4 separate regions of the Homo sapiens genome follow, and all the other regions are linked to region 2. The links are contacts of gene promoters, found by promoter capture Hi-C in blood cells and fetal thymus (Javierre and others, 2016). All regions are on one chromosome and are shown on one strand. Each heading gives the region's core, a stretch centred on a gene start or on the middle of the fragment in contact. The rest is flanking DNA. Distances are from core to core; before and after follow the strand shown.

Region 1 (4,342 bases), core at 1,281-3,780, 1.1 Mb before region 2:
TTGACACTTGTTGAAGGAGTGGGCAATCTTCCCTCCCAAACTGGCTTGAGAAATTGCATTAGCCTTGCCTGCCTGGCTTTTCTGCCTGAAATCTTTAAGCATCTCGGTATAAGGGGCAAACGCAGTGGAGGCCAGCCATTTAAATTTGAGGCTTCGATCAAGCGTAGGGTCACACTCTTCCATGTCGCTAAAAATTTTTTCCAAGGCAGAACTCCATTCTGATATTTTGGCGCTGTGAGAGGGACAATTCTGGAAGTCTTGGGCCGACTTTCATGGCCATCAACTCCAATGCCTTCTTTTGCCATCTCATCCAGGTCTTCGTTGGTTGGTTCCACTGCCTTCTCTGCCAAAATGTACTCCACATCTCCTTCCTTCACGTCATCAAAGCCCTCTCCACTTACCTGCTGTGCCATATGCATTATGTCTCTGACAGTGTTCTTTATATTTTCTGTAACACCTTCAAACCCTTCAAAATTCTCCACGCAGTCTGGCCAAACATTTTCCCAACAGTTATTGGTAGTAGCCTGACCAATGCTCTCCCAGGCTGTACTGACATAATCAATAACGTTGCATGTAGTGACCGACTTCCAATAGTCCAGCATGGTGGTTTCCTTGTTGGTCCTGAGAGCCTCACAGGCCTTCATATAAAGCTCCCTTGTGTAGTGTGCCTTGAATGCTTTTATTATGCCCCGATTGAGGGGTTGGATGAGAGACTTAGTGTTTGGGGGCATAAAAAGAACTCCTATGTTGGCGTGTGCATTTTCGAGTTCTTTGCAGCAATGGATTGTAGCATTATCCAAAATTAACAAAACCTTGAAGGTGCCCGGCGCGGTGGCTCACGCCTGTAATCCCAACACTTTGGGAGGCCGAGGCAGGCGGATCATGAGGTCAGGAGATCAAGACCATCCTGGCTAACACGGTGAAACCCCGTCTCTACTGAAAATACAAAAAATTATCCAGGCGTGGTAGTGGACGCCTGTAGTCCCAGCTACTCGGGAGGCTGAGGCAGGAGAATGACGTGAACCCGGGAGGCGGAGCTTGCAGTGAGCCGAGATTGCGCCACTGCACTCCAGCCTGGGCGACAGAGCGAGACTCCGTTTCAAAACCAAACCAAAACAAAACAAACCCAAACAAACAAAAAACAAAACAAAACAAAACAAAAAACCCTTGAAGGCAAGGTTTCTGCCCTGGAGACAGTGTTCAGCTTCTGGGATGAAGCAGTTGTGGAACCAATCAGACATCATCCACACTTTTTTGTTCCACCTCCAATAGACTGGCAGATGGTTCACGTATTTCCCGTTAAGTGCTTGTGGATTTTGGGTTCTTTACACCATTAGGAGTTTGCACTTTAGTCGCTCTTGGCATTGGCGCACAATAACAAGGGTGCATGATCCTGGCATGATTTAAAGCCAGGGGCTTTGGAGGCCGTTTGCATTATATAGGTTCGTTTGCCAACATCCTTGTAAAATAAGCCAGTCTCATCCGCATTGAAAACCTGCTCTTTCACATAACCCTTTTCCTGTATAACACTTAGCAAGTATTTTTAAAATTCTTCCGCAGCCTCCTGATCTGCAGAGCTCGCCTCACCTGCAAGTTTAACATTTTTCACCCCGTATCGCCTTTTGAAACGCGCGAGCCGGCCAGCACTCGCCGAGAAGGGCTTAGCATTTCTTTGACTCTGGGTAACGTGACCACAGATATCTTTGGCTTTCAGCCTCACCACAATGCTGTCCACTATGTTTTTTTTAATCGATTGACATCTCATGAATCCACAAATTTAGCCGCTTTTCCATCTTTTCCATCTTTGTCATAGCTTCATCACGCACGATGGAGGTCACTTCAGCACTATCCGGAGCGGCCTCACGGACAGATCGGTGAATTTCCTTTTCCTTTTTCTTGATGTACCGGATTGTCGACTCGTTAACATTGAGCTCATGGCCAACAGCACTGTAACTCATGCCTGATTGGAGCTTATCCAACACGCGGACTTTCTCCGTAAGGCACATCACGGTCTTCTTTCGCTTAGGAACACTGGGCAGAGCTTAAGCACTACGCTTGGGGGCCATTTTAGAAAGCAAAACCACCCACAAAAAGCAGAAAAAAAAGTGTCAGTAAACAGACTGCGGAAAGGACTCTTTGTTTACAGCACAGGAGCTGCGACTAGAAGGCGGCGCTTCTCCCAGTTCAAACTTCAGCTGGGAACCTTACCTCCGCCAACTCCAAATTTTCACCCTCTGCGCATGCCCGGGAAGAACCCCAGACAGTACCGTGATGATTGATTTTAGGGTTACAAATACATTTTAGCAAGTAAGTGAATTTGGCATTACGAATTAATGATTAATGAAGGTCACCTGTATTTCCATAGATATGTAATTTTATTTAAGCAGGTTTATTATATTAAGGCGGCGAGGCAGCGCCGAAGACTACAAGTTCCAGCATGCACCGCGTCCGGGCGGGTTCGGGCTCCCAGCGAGGGCTTCAGGGACGCCAGCCCGGAGGCATCGGCCGGAAGTGTCGTAGGGCAACCACGTAGTACTCTCTGCGCATGTGCAAAGCGCTGTCGGGGGCCGCCCTAGCTGCCGTCGCCGCCGCCGGGGCTCTATGGTCTCTCCCTAGAGCTTTGCCGTTGGAGGCGGCTGCTGCGGTCTTGTGAGTTTGACCAGCGTCGAGCGGCAGCAACATGGAGGAATTCGACTCCGAAGACTTCTCTACGTCGGAGGAGGACGAGGACTACGTGCCGTCGGGTGAGCGATTCCGCCTGAGGCGAGAAGCGAATTGCCCCGCCCCACGCCTCACGTGAGGCGCGCTCTGCCCCCGCGGGCGTCTGCCCTGTGGCCCAGGTGGTCCAGGGGGGCTCCTGTTCTCGAGCGTCCGCTCCCTCAGGCCCCTCATCCTCGGCCGCTCCGGCCCGAGGCGTGTGCGCGTGGCGGTTCTGTGCTCCCCTCCCGTTGGGCAGCTCCGGCCGCCGCCCCCTCTTGCAGCGCGGGAACCGGCACATGGACACGGCCCCTTGTCGCTAGGGACGCTCGTCGGTCAGCCCCGAACGACACCGCTGCTTCAGAAGTCGGGGCGGCAGTCCGAGCCTTGGAGGTTTTTTTCAGCCCTGGCCCGAGAGAGCTGCTGGCCACCACCCCGTCCAAGATAGAGCTGTCCGCTCTCCGCCTGGTTGTTAGAAAGTTCTGATAGAAAGTTCCCCCTTTGATGCTTTTTGCCTCATTGTGACGTCCACCCATCCTCTCCTCTCAGAACTTTCTTTCCTTAGGGATCTCAACCCGAACGGGGTGAGAATGAATCTTACTGAAGAAATCTTTCTGTTCCCCCTTCTTGGTCTTCCCCAGACAAACCGTCTCGTTGAAAGTATCTTCACCCATTCACATCTTCAGTTGAAAGACTAGACAAACAAGAAACAAACAGACTAACAAAACACAACCCAGGAGTCGTCCCTATTCTCTTTGTTTTACTTTGTTCTGTTCTGTTTTATTTAAAGACAGGGTCTTGCTGTTGTCTAGGCTGGAGTGCAGTGATGCGATCTTGGCTCACTGCAACCTCAGACTCCTGGGCTCAAGCGATCCTCCCGTCTCAGCCTCTGGAGTAGCTGGGACTGCAGGTGCAGGCTGCCACGCCCGCTAATTTTTTAAATTTTTTTTTTTTTTTTTTTTTTTAGAAATGGCATCTTGCTATGTTGCCCAGGCTGGTCTCGAACTCGTGGGCTCAAGTGATCCTCCCACCTCAGCCACCCAAAGTGCTGGGATTACAGGCATGAGCCACCGCGCCCCGGCTAGTGAAGTATTTCTAAAAGGCACGTTGAAAACTAGCCATTCCATTCCTGGCGCGGTGGCTCATGCTTGTAATCCCAACACTTTGGGAGGCTGAGGTGGGTGGATCACAAGGTCTGGAGATCGAGACCATCCTGGACAACATGGTAAAACCCCGTCTGTACTAAAAACACAAAAATTAGCTGGGCATGGTGGCACGCGCCTGTAGTCCCAGCTCCTCAGGAGGCTGGAGCAGGAGAATCGCTTGAACTCGGGAGGTGGAGGTTGCAGTGAGCCGAGATCACACCACTGCACTCCAGCCTGGGTGACAGAGCGAGACTCCGTCTCAAAAAAAAAAAAAAAAAAGTTAGCCAGTCCCATCACCCTCATCCCTATTTTATTTAATATTCCTCAGGAGAAACTTCTTTCCACCTTTTGAATTTGGTATTATATTTCTGTTGTCTATTGATTTAACCCATGTATAGTAGGTATCATTTTTAGTAGCCCCTGACCTCCTTCCCCTCATCCCAAACACACACACAAACACTTCCACCTTCGGGGCCTCCCCAACTCCGTAGTCTGCCGTT
Region 2 (3,836 bases), core at 124-2,623:
AATTAAGTTCTCAAGCGCTGGTGGAAGGTTTAGCTACAGGTCACGGAGAAGATCAGGGAAGCAACAGGACACGTGGGGCAAGGGAGCGTGAGGCTTAGGAGCAATTAGAGGGAGACAAAAAGGTTCTGCTATCCACCAAACCTTCTTCGGTCTGGGCCCTCCCTTAGCAACCCTGGGGCTTTATACTCCCTCTCCACCAATCCCTGATGACCCCGGTGGTGCCTCACAATGGACAATGCCAAGTAGCGCCCGCATCATTCCAATGACCCCTCCCCCATCTCAGTCTCCCACACTCCTCGCAAGGACAGGTCCTCTCTGGAACCTTCACAAACCTGATTTCTGGTCCTCCCCAACCAGCTCCCTGTCCCTGCTTCTGGGCTCTCCTTCCTTCCTGAGCTCCCAGGGTTCCTCAAGGTCACTTTTGGCGACAAAACATAAAAAACAAATGATGGCAGGATGGCAGGAAGAACTTCATACCCAAGCAGAGTGCCAGGTTTTACAGCCTCCGCTCAGCCATTCATATCCTAAGCAACAAAACATCAGCAGGATGCGGAAGGTCCCGATAGTAAACCATCTCCATCACATCCATGTAGCCATCCGTCCATCAACCTGTATCTCAGGAACAAATGTAGATACATTCATTTTAAGCATGCATGGTACATTTACAAAAATTAACCTGACTTATTTTGTTCCAGCAAATCTCAATATATTTGAGAGCAATCAAATCACACAGCATGTTTCTGATCATATAACTGTGCTAGAAGTCAATGATTAAAAGCTAATTCAAAATTATTATTTGCTTGGAAATTCAAAGTGCCCTTATAAGACATAAACATAAGAAAGAATCCAAAATGAAACAAGATTGCCTTTCAACTCAATGATGAGATCATAACATGGCAATAAAATGTCTCCCCCTGGCCTGGGAATTCCTCTTTGTGGCACAAGGTTGTGTGATCTCAAATCACCCCTAACCCACCTAGACATTTTAACATCTGAAACCGAGTGATGATGTCCTTATCTATAATCATCTTACTGCCTGTGTGTGTGGACTTTAAATTCTGAACCCAAATGAGGGGGAGAAAACCAAGTTGACCTTCATCATTGACCTCTCAGGGACGTCCAAGGAATCTGTGCATTTCAAGAAACAAAGTTCATCAGCTTCTCTCCTAAGGTATTTGCCCACAATACCCAGAGGGCTTGGCAGCATCATGTGTGATGGGTGGGGAGCTCCAAGCAGGTGGGCAGGACCCAGGGGTCTGGTGACCAGGACAGACCCCCACTGTCCATCACCTTTCCTGGCCCTGTCCTCAGCTGAACTTCCCACAGGCCTTCTGCCCGATCACACAGAGTGTGCCCAAACTCACTCAGGCCTCTGGCAGCTGAAAACCACTGCTTTAAATCCCTTTACCATTTACTATGACATAAGGTTATTGTAAACAGGAAATATTCTATTGATGCTACAAATGGAAAGCCAATGCCTTTACCATAAATAGAAAAACAACCCTAAGAAACAAGCAAAACAAAAACAAAACAGGGGCTGGGTGTGGTGGCTCACGCCTGTAATCCCAGCACTTTGGGAGGCCGAGGTGGGTGGATCACAAGGTCAGGAGTTCCAGACCAGCCTGGCCAATATGGTGAAACCCTGTCTCTAATAAAATACAAAAATTAGCCGGGTGTGGTGGTGGGCGCCTTAGTCCCACCTACTTGGGAGGCTGAGGCAGGAGAATAGTTTGAACCCGGGAGGCAGAGTCTGCAGTGAGCCGAGATTGCACCACTGCACTCCAGCCTAGGCGACAGAGCGAGACTCAGTCTCAAAAACAGCAACAACTACAAACAAACAAAAAACAGGGTTAACAAAACTATGGAATTCAATTCTATTTATATGCTGCAGCCATGTTCCAGCCCTAGATTTGGCTGGGCATGGTGGCTCACGCCTGTAATCCCAGCACTTTGGGAGGCTGAGGCAGGCGGATCACGAGGTTAGGAGTTCGAGATCAGCCTGACCAACATGGTGAAACCCCGTCTCTACTAAAAATACAAAAATTAGCCAGGCACGGTGGCACCCGCCTGTAATCCCAGCTACTCAGGAGGCTGAGGCAGGACAATCCCTTGAACCCAGGAGGTGGAGGTTGCAGTGAGCCGAGATCGTGCCATTGCACTCCAGCCTGGGTGACAGAATGGAATGAGACTCTGTCTCAAAAAAAAAGAAGCCCTCGGATTTCGGTTGTGTTGGTTGTAAAAGGAGAGACCAAGTAAGTGGGGGTTGAAGTCAGATTAGACCAAAAGTGAATGGCAGAGAGTACTATAATGTCCATGAAGGGTTGCTAGAGTCACCGTGATCATAGCCCAAGCAGAGACAGGGAAAGGAAGATGTGAGCAGAGTTTGGGGCCTCAAACATTGGAGGTTACTCGTGCAGCCCAGGAAAGGCTCCCCAAAGCCAGGATCAACCTCCCTTGCAGGCGGTCCCTCATGGAGGCATGGCCAGGCACCTTAGATTTGAGACCAGCTGTGTTGCTGCTGACCAGCTGTGTGACCCTGGGCTGGTTTCCTTGCGTACAATGGGAGTGCCAATGGCTGCATGCATGCAAAGACCATCTGAGGATAGGAGGAAGCAATCTGTTGAGCACCCGTGTACCTGAGTGTCATCACCTCCCAAAGGCATCCTTCGTTCCAGAGCTGGCACCTTGGAAGGCCCTTGGTTACTAAATGCAGTGATGATGGTAACAGCAGTAAATCATCATTTACGGCTGATGACGGAAGGCCAGGGGGTAGGGCTCCTAGGTCCTGGATAAGAATGAGGGTCTGGGCACTTCTGGGGACAGCTGAGTGGTAGAACTCCTGGGTCTCCAGGGGGCAGGTCCATCTTCAGTGGCATTGGGCCTAGGCTGGGATGCTGAGTTATCCACTGGAGCATCAGCAGTACAGGCAGGCACAGAGGCAGTGGATCCATCGGAGGTGGCAGGTGTAGGATCATCTGGTGAGCAAGTAGAGTCACCAAGCCTGGCTTCTAGATATAAGAGAAGTTCCTGGGCCGGGTGCCACGGCTCAAGCCTGTAATCCCAGCACTTTGGGAGGCCGAGGCGGGTGGATCACGAGGTCAGGAGATCGAGACCATCCTGGCTAACACGGTGAAACCCCGTCTCTACTAAAACTACAGAAAAATTAGCCGGGCGTGGTAGCAGGCACCTGTAGTCGTAGCTACTCGGCAGGCTGAGGCAGGAGAATGGCGTGAACTCGGGAAGCGGAGCTGGCAGTGAGCCGAGATTGCGCCACTGCACTCCAGCCTGGGCGACAGAGGGAGACTCCGTTTCAAAAAAAAAAAAAAAAAAAAAAAACCAAAACAAAACCAAAAAAAGAATGTTCCAGAAAATTGCCATTTATTTATCTAATAGGTACTGTTAAGCTAGAATATTTGAATTTTGAAGAAAATAGTAGCCGAGCATGGTGGTGGGCACCCATGATTCCAGCTCCTTGGGAGGCTAAAGCAGAAGCATCACTTGACCCCAGGAATTCAAGACCAGCATGGGCAACATAGCGAGACCCTGTCTTTAAAAACTTTTTTTTTTTTTTTTGAGACAGAGTTAGCTCTTGTTGCCCAGGTTGGAATGCAGTGGCGTGATCTCAGTTCTGATCTCAGAGGCGGGCGGATCACAAGGTTTGGAGTTCGAGACCAGCCTGACCAATATGGTGAAACCCAGTCTCTACTAAACATACAAAAATTAGCGGGGCATGGTGGTGCATGCCTGTAATCCCAGCTACTCAGGAGGCTGAGGCAGGAGAATCACTTCAACCCGGGAGGCGGAGGTTGCAGTGAGCCAAGATCGCACCACTGCAC
Region 3 (4,103 bases), core at 1,310-3,809, 1.3 Mb before region 2:
TGTGCGCGTGTGTGTGTGCACGTGTGTGTGAGGGGTAGGGGGAGTATATGTGTATATGTGTGTATAATTGACTATAGTATTCCAATAGAATATTAGAAGCTACATTGAATATGAAAAATATATGTATATATAAAGAGAGAGACACATATATGTGCACACATGTTCATTAGATTTGTTAAATGTTTGACTTCACTCTCAAGACTGTAAGCTCCTAAGGGCAGGAATTGTATGTTTTGTTCATCACCACATCTCCAATACCCACCAATGCCTATACATAGTAAGTACTCAAAAAGCACTGCTGTATGAATGTATTAGGGCTTCCAAGCTATACTGGTTAGACAGATTACAAAGCATGCTATATGAGAAGAGGCCTAGGTAGGTCATGTTTGAGAGCTGAGTGTTTGAAGTTTATGAAAAATGAACCAAATATCAAATAATAAAACAGACTACAAAAGGCAACAATCCCTAAATCCTGCCAATTCCTGTGCATCCCTTCAATTCCTGTGCATCCCTTCACTCACCAATTACAGAAGCTTTAAATTATTTCCCTTGTTTGGACTGAAGCCTAACCATTTTTCTTTGTTAATATGAATTTTCTTTGTTAGTTCACAAGACGCTTTATCATGGAAAAATATATACATATAATTTGGACCTTTAAAAAACTTATCATTATTGTATGGCTCCTGTCTTTCTCTGTAGCTATTATTAAATATCAGATTCTAACAGAGTAATATAAGCTAGACTGAATATGGAAGAGCTAAAACATTTTTAAAAAGCTCAAAGTACACAAAAAGCTAAATTTGCTTGATAAAAAAAATTACTATAAGTAGCTGGGCATGATGGCACATGCCTGTAATCCCAGTTACCCAGGAGGCTGAGGCAGAAGAATTGCTGGAACCTGGGAGGTGGAGGCTACAGTGAGCTGAGATGGCACCACTGCACTCCAGCCTGGGTGACAGAGTGAGACTCCACCTCAAAAAAATACAAAAAGCGGTGGCTCACGCCTGTAATCCCAGCACTTTGGGAGGCCAAGGCGGGCGGATCACGAGGTCAGGAGATCGAGGCCATCCTGGCTAACACAGTGAAACCCCGTCTCTACTAAAAATACAAATAATTAGCCAGGCATGGTGGTGGGCGCCTGTAGTCCCAGCTACTCGGGAGGCTGAGGCAGGAGAATGGTGTGAACCCAGGAGGCGGAGCTTGCAGTGAGCCAAGATCGCACCACTGCACTCCAGCCTGGGCGACAGAGCCAGACTCTGGCTCAAAAAAATAGAAAAAACAATTACTATAAACTTTTTGAAAAATATATTGACATTAAAGTACTCAAAGTGGGATGCTTTATACTGTTTATACAACTGTCCCTATTCTACCCAATTTTTCTCCCTTTCCCCCTCAACTTGTCCTGCCAAAAACTAAAAGCTTTGTGAAGCAAAAGCTTCAGGGCAACATGTCTGAAGCCCAGATCAGTCCCATTTTCCATTTTCCCTTTCCATCTTGAACTCCTCTCTCACTTTCCTGAGCCCCAGGTAGATGAAAAAGGTGTACAGGATAACCAGTTTCAAAGAAGAATGAAGGTAGGGAAAAAAATAATGAGTAAATCTAGTTAACATACCACAACCTCCTCAAACTCCCGGGTGGCTTCCACAAGCATCTTTTTGACTGCTTCTTCATTCTCCTGGATTTCTTCCTTCACATACTCTTCTTCAGGCAAATCTGGAGTTCTCTTATTCTGTGGTTCTGTTAAAGAGAAGAACAGCACAGATTAGCAATAGCCTCTTTTACATAAACCAAAAATATATTTGCTGTGTGAGCTCTGGGCCAGGAGTGAGCCTGCACTTTTTTTTTTTTTTTTTTTTTTTTTACTATCAGAAGACATCTGTTCTTGATTCAGAAGGGTAAAAAAAGCCTAGGACGTGCTCATTCACCCATTTCTATGCTTGCTTCTGAAAAGATGTACTATCCAAACAATGATACATTCTTAAACTCTGACATATAAAAATGCTCAAGTTTAATTCATTTTTTGCTTTGTAGTTACAGACTTTGCAAATTAATAAAAATGTGTCATAAATTGGGTTCCTTGGGAAGCAAATTCTGAGATGGAGATGGAAATTTAAAGAATTGGGAAGTGATTTTGGGAAAACCTTTGTGGAAGAGCAGGAGTGGGCAGAGAGAGAAGCTGACTTATCAAAGAGTTTCAACAAGACCTCAGCCAAAACCATGGGCAACTCTGGAGCTAGGAAGGCCCTTCAGAACTGACCAAGCTGGGGCCAAGGAGCAGACTTTGTAACTCTGCAAATATCAGTCACTGGATGGTGGCAGCCCTAAGAAGACAGGAGTTTGGGCAAGGCAGCTCTCCTAGCAGCCAAAGGCAGATCTGGGCCACGTACCACAATCCACCAATATACCATCTACAAAAAGGAGGGCCTCCTAAATTTAAACATCCTGTTCCTTTCCTTTACATTTTGTTCTCTGAAGATTTAACTCTGCTCCTTTTCTACTTACTAAAACATACTACAAAGGGGCAGCAAGAGGGAGTTTTTCGTGATGGAATTGTTCTAAATCCCAATGTGGGTGCTGGTTACAAAAATTTACCTATGTTAAAACACATATAACTGGAAAAGAGTACAGCAGTTCCTCAAAAAATTCAATATAATTTCATGATGACAACCCACAAGGAAAAAGAAAAAATTAAACATAAAATTACCATATGATCCAGCAATTGCATTTCTAGGCATATACCTAAAATAATGGAAAGCAGGGTCTCAAACAGATACTAGTTATACCCATGTTCACAGCAGCATTATTCAAAATAAACAAAAGATGGAAATAAGCCAAATGTCAATTGATACATTAATGGAAAAACAAAATGTAGTATATACATACAATGGAATATTATTCACCTTTAAAAAGGAATCAAATTCTGACACATGCTACAATATGGATGAACTTTGAAGATATTATGTAAAGTGAAATAAGCCAGACACAAAAGGGCAAATATTACATGATTCTACTTGTATGAGGTATCTAGAAATATTGAATTCATAGAAACAGAAGGCGGAATGGTTGTTTCCAGGGGCTAAGAGGAGGGAGAAATGGGGAATTAGTGTTTAATAGGCATGTTTCTGACCCCTAGAAGCAGAAAATAATAAAAGGCATGGAGTTTCAGTTTTAGAAAATGAGTAAGTTCTAGATACAGATGGTGGTGACAGTTGCCCAACAATGTGAATGCACTTAATAATGCCACTGAACAGAACACTTAAAAAACTATCTGAACTGTAAATTTTACGGTATATACATTTTACCACAATAAAAAATAAAGTTTTTAAAATGCATATAATTTTACACCATAAAAAGTTAATTTTACTGTATGTATTTAATAAAATTCTTAAATAGTAACTAAAAGAGGCTTATCTTTGAGAGATACATGCTAAAATAGATAAAATGATATGATGTCTGGCATTTGCTTCAAAACAGTCCAGGAAGTTGGGATGAAAAGTATAGATTTAAAAAATGCCATGAACTAAAATCAGGTGAAGGTGGGTGATGGGTATATGCAGTATAGTTCATTATACTATTCTGTATTTGTAAATGCTTGGAATTCTCCATAATAAAAAGTAAATTACTGTTCATTCACATAATGAAATACAGTGCAATCAATTAGAAAAGAATGAGGAAAAGCTTTGTGCAGACACACAAACACTTCAAGATAAATAATTAAGTTTAAAAAAAGTAAACCACAGATTAAGTTGATGTCTAGTGTGCTAGTATTACTATGAGCAAAGGGGACATGCAACAGACAAGAGACGGTAATAGAGGCTGCCCCTAGGAAAGGACCCAGGGAAAAGGGTATGTAAATAGGGAGACTGCCTTTTCAGTATGTACCCATTTGTACTCTGAGTATATCTACGGGATAAATTCCTAGAACAAAACTGCCATGTTTAAGGGAATATACGTTATAAATGTCATCAGATATTGTCAAAATGCCCCCCAAAGAAATTGTATCAATTTCTATTAACAACGTAGGAGTATACTTGTTTTCCCATACACTAACTTTGGATATTACCCATTGTATTGACTTTTGCCAATCTTATAGATAAAGTATA
Region 4 (4,437 bases), core at 316-2,815, 1.7 Mb after region 2:
TCTATTGTGATACTTCTCCCACCCCGGTGGATTTAATTTCCATTGAGATTTATGAACATTTTAGGAGTTTACAGTCTAAATAGACAGCTTTCCCCACCTCTCCTGTATATGACCATGAAAATCCTCTATTAACTTTCCAGTTTGATAATGCAGTATGAGCTTCTATATGCTTAGCCTCTAGAACAGAGATTCTTTTGGGGGTGGGGGGTCTTAGTCCTGTTTAAGACCCAGAGGAAAACCTTGGAGCTTTTCTCCAGAATATGACACATACACACAAAATTTTGTATTAGTTTTAGAGAGTTGTATTTTGTTTTAGTAGAAAAGAGATCTGACTTTGTTGCTCAGACTGATCTCCAGTGTCAGCCTCCCAAAGGGTTGGGATTACAAGCGTGAGCCGCCGAGCCCAACCCTGTTTTAGGGAGTTTTAGATTCTGTTTTGAAATGTGGATATTAGTGGGACCCCAGTCCAATTCTACACGTTTATTTATATATATACACACACGTATGTCTATATATATAATTATATATATTTACATAATATATATCTATGTATATAATTTTTTTAAGTAGAAATAAGCAGCGAAACAGTGTTTTAACTTCTACCGAATGGCTGTCATTTCTTAGTTTTAAGACTTGTAGTTCGGAGGGAGGTGGAATGAGAAGGCTGAAAATTTTACATGAGCTCTGATTTAAGGATATTAGAAAAGTCATTTCTAAGTGTGGCGGTCCACGCCTGTAATCCCAACCAACACTTTGGGAGGCTGAGGTGGAAAGACTGCTTCAGCCCAGGAGTTCGAGACCAACCCAGGAGTTCAAGACGATAGTCGGACCCCATCTCTACAAAAAAATTTTAAAATTAGCCAGCCGTGGTGGTGTTCGCCTTGCTCCCAGCTACTCAGGAGGCTGAGGTGGGAGGATCACTTGGGCCGGGGAATTCCAGGCTGCAGTGGCCAATGATCGTGCCTATCTCCAAAACAAACAAACAAAAAACAGAGAGATAAAGGTAGTAAGGTAGTATATGAGCACAGGGGCATACCAAAAAATAAGTTCACAAGGTATTGCATCCAGAGTCTTTTTGAATTAACAAGAAATAGGAAAATTCTTGATCAACATGAAGAGTGAAAATAGTTTGTGTGCCTTAATTTTTTGGATGTTTTATATTAAAATAATTTTATGGTGAATTCTACCAGCATATACCTGAATATAATCTCATAATCTTCTTCCTAACCATCTCAGGCATTATCTTTCACATGAGAACATTAGCTTACCTGAAATTTGCTTTTATATATGATGTGAGGAATGGCTTTAACTAAATTTTTTTTCACTGTTCGGTTGCCATTTTGGGGAGATTGGTCTTCAGTTTTGCTTTATTTTGATTGTCTGGTTTTAGAATTAGGGTAATGGTGTCTGACATCTTTAAGTGATCTGGGATGTGTTGTATTCTTTACTTCTTGAAAAAGTTTGTATAAGATTGGCATTGCATTGTTAAGTGTTTGATAGAATACATCCATCTATGTAGATCCATATTTTCATAATTTTCCTTCAGTTTGAATAACTTCATTTATTTAATACTGCATGTAGGTGAAGGATTCTGTCAGTGTTTGTTTCTTAGAAAATGTTTTTATTTAACTTTCATTTTTGAAAGATTTATTTTTAAACTGGATATATAATTGTAGGTTGACTTTTTTTAGCACTTTAATATTCTATTGTCCTCTGGCTGTTGTTTTTAGATATTTGGTGTCATTCTTATCTTTGTTCTCCTGTATATAATGTCTCCCCCAACCCCATCCCACCTCACCCTCACTTTTGAAAAAACAAAGTCGGGCATATTTAGTCATAATTTGCATATGGTAAAGTTGACTCTTTTAAGGAATACTGTTCTATGAGTTTGGACAAATGTGAAGAGTTGTGAACTATCACAATCATTTTTAGTATATCTGTAAGTCTGTAAAGTCTCATGCACTTATTATCGATTTTCTATCCTCACCATTGGTCCCTAGCAACCCTTGATCTGATATCTACTGCTATAGGTTTGTGTTTGGAGGCATCATGTTAGTGGAATCACATAGTATGAGCTGGTAGTGTCTGGCTTCTTTCACTTGATATAATACTTTCAAGATTCATCTATGTTCTTGCATGTATCACTAATTTTTTCTTTTAATGTGTGAGTAGTATTCCATTATATGTATTACCAGTTTGTTTATCCATTCAGCAGTTAATGGGCTTTGAGTTGTTTCCAGGTTTTGGCTGTTAGTAATAAAGCTGCTATAAACATTTGGCTACAGGTGTTTGTGTGGCCAAAGATTTTAATTTCTTGCTTGCTTGCTTGCTCTTTGCTTTTTTTTTTCCTCTCTATTTTTGTTTTGTTTTGTTTTGTTTTGTTTTTGAGGTAGGATATGGCTCACCATAACCTCGAATTCCTGGGCCTCAGCCTTTTCAAGTAGCTGGGACTACAGGAGCATGTCACCAGGCCTAGCTAATTTGTAATGTTTGGTAGAAAAAAGGTCTTGCTATGTTGTCCAGGCTGGACTTAACCTCCTGGTCTTAACCTCCTGCCTCAAGCAATCCTTCCACCTCAGCCTCCCAAAATGTTGGGATTATAGGTGTGAGGCACCATGCTCAGCCTTAATTTCATAAAATACTTTAAAACCTTTTTCAAAAGTGGCTGTCCCATTTTGCATTCCCATCAGCTGCATATGGCAGTTCCAGTTATTCAACAGTCATATCAGCCCTTGGGGTTTATAGTAGTTAGTAGTTTAAATTTTTTAAACTATTGCTCTGGGTCTGTACTGATGTCTCATTGTAATTTTAAGTTATATTTCTCTGATGCTTAATGAAATAGAGTAGTCAGTCATTCATCCACTTGTTATCTGAACGTCTTTTGTGAAGCATCTATAAAAATGTTTTGCCCTTTTTTTTTTTTTTTTTTTTTTGAGATGCAGTCTCACTCTGTTGCCCAGGCTGGAGTGCAGTGGTGCGATCTCAGCTCACTGCAGCCTCCTCCTCCTGGGTTCAAGCAGTTCTCCCACCTAAGTCTCACGAGTAGCTAGGATTACAGGCGCACGCCACCATGCCCAGCTAATTTTTGTATTTTTAGTAGAGACATGGTTTCACCACATTGGCCAGGCTGGTCTCGAACTCCTGACCTTGGGGATCCACCTGCTTTGGCCTCTCAAAGTGCTGGGATTACAGGCGTTTGAGTTACCATGCCTGACCTGTTTTGCCTATTTTATTTGGTAGTTTTATTGAGGTACAATTTACGTACAACAAATTTCATATTTTTAAAGTGTATACTTTGATAAGTTTTGACATGTACCCATGAAACCATCACCACAATCAAATTAATGTACATCTACAACATGGCTGAACCTTGGAAACATGTTAAGTGAAAGAAGCCAGTCACAAAAGGTCATATATTGTATGATTTTATTTATAAAAAATTTCCAAAATAGGCAAATCCATAGAGATAGAAAGTAGATTAATGGTTGATAGGGGCCAGGGCAGGGGAGAATGGAAAATTACTGCTAATGAGTATAGAGTTTCTTTTTGAGATGATGCAAATAGTCTGGAATTAGATAGTTGTGGTGGTTGCACAGCTTTATGAATACTCTCAAAACTATGAATCGTACACTTTAAAGGGTGAATTTTATGATATATAAGTTATATCTCAATAAAGCTGTTGTGAAAAAGAGAAAAATAACTCTAGTTGTGATCTAAGGGGCTGTTCAAAAAGCAATGTTTGTAATAGTAGAAACATGGAAACTAAATGTCCATCAGTAGAAGAATGATAAAAATGGTTGTATATTCTTAAAATGAAAGTGATGCTATTAAAATAATGAAGCCAAACAGTATGTATCAATATGATATATCTCACAATCATAGTTAGAGGGGAAAAACATTGCAGAAGAATCTGTAACAGATATAATACAGAATTAGCATTTAGAAATATGTAGAATAGTATATAGTTTAGTAAAGGTATCAAAAATGCATGGGGATCATAAACATCAGCTTCCAGGTGGTAATTAGCTGTGGTGATAATTTATGGTACATGTACCTGGTGTCGGTGGGGGAAAGAGAGGGGGAATGTTATTAAGGAAGTGTTCATAGAATGTTTCAACTATACTGGTAGTGTTTTATTAAACTGCGTGATAGATATACAGAAGTTATTTTTATTTTTAGAATATTTCAAATAATTTTATAAGAATATTTGCAGGACACAGCAAAATGATAGTAGATGATTTATCCCATGGAAGGGATAAACCATCAAGATAAAGATTTTTCACTTACAAGAGTAGCAACATCAAATGTAGAACTGAGGCTGAGCGTGGTGTCTCATGCCTGTAATCCCAGCACTTCCTAAGGCCAAAGCAGAGGATCCTTTGAGCCCAGGAGTTTGAGACCAGTCTGGGCAACATTAGGAGACCATGTCTACAAACA

What was found. Contacts are between HindIII fragments. The CHiCAGO score rates a contact against its expected background, and 5 or more counts as called.
Region 1: the fragment with the promoter of CFDP1 here is called in contact with the fragment with the promoter of NPIPB15 in region 2 in 6 of 17 cell types (total CD4 T cells, activated CD4 T cells, neutrophils and 3 more); the score reaches 9.2 in total CD4 T cells.
Region 3: a contact is called between a fragment that was not itself captured here and the fragment with the promoter of NPIPB15 in region 2, in 1 of 17 cell types (monocytes). The highest score is 5.1, in monocytes.
Region 4: a contact is called between a fragment that was not itself captured here and the fragment with the promoter of NPIPB15 in region 2, in 2 of 17 cell types (total CD8 T cells and total B cells). The highest score is 6.5, in total CD8 T cells.

What each region holds. Positions count from the first base shown.
Region 1 is chr16:75,431,691-75,436,032 of GRCh38, reverse strand. CFDP1 (craniofacial development protein 1) reads left to right here and starts at 2,530. Exons shown (of 7, transcript NM_006324.3): 1 at 2,530-2,744. The coding sequence starts at 2,681. It overlaps LOC124903723 (tigger transposable element-derived protein 1-like), which reads right to left and starts at 829. Exons shown (of 1, transcript XM_047435019.1): 1 at 1-829. The coding sequence starts at 731. RefSeq lists enhancers at 1,924-2,491, 2,035-2,544 and a silencer at 2,855-3,094. The HindIII fragment of the contact is 10,360 bases long and covers 1-4,342 here.
Region 2 is chr16:74,373,843-74,377,678 of GRCh38, reverse strand. It overlaps NPIPB15 (nuclear pore complex interacting protein family member B15), which reads right to left and starts at 1,373. Exons shown (of 8, transcript NM_001306094.2): 1 at 333-1,373. The HindIII fragment of the contact is 9,807 bases long and covers 1-3,836 here.
Region 3 is chr16:75,651,907-75,656,009 of GRCh38, reverse strand. TERF2IP (TERF2 interacting protein) reads right to left here. Exons shown (of 3, transcript NM_018975.4): 2 at 1,613-1,737. Among named protein-coding and RNA genes, the nearest start is that of TERF2IP, 6.2 kb to the right of the region's middle. The HindIII fragment of the contact is 2,243 bases long and covers 1,438-3,680 here.
Region 4 is chr16:72,659,638-72,664,074 of GRCh38, reverse strand. All of the region lies in intron 1 of LINC01572 (long intergenic non-protein coding RNA 1572), which reads left to right. Among named protein-coding and RNA genes, the nearest start is that of LINC01572, 3.1 kb to the left of the region's middle. The HindIII fragment of the contact is 7,084 bases long and covers 1-4,437 here.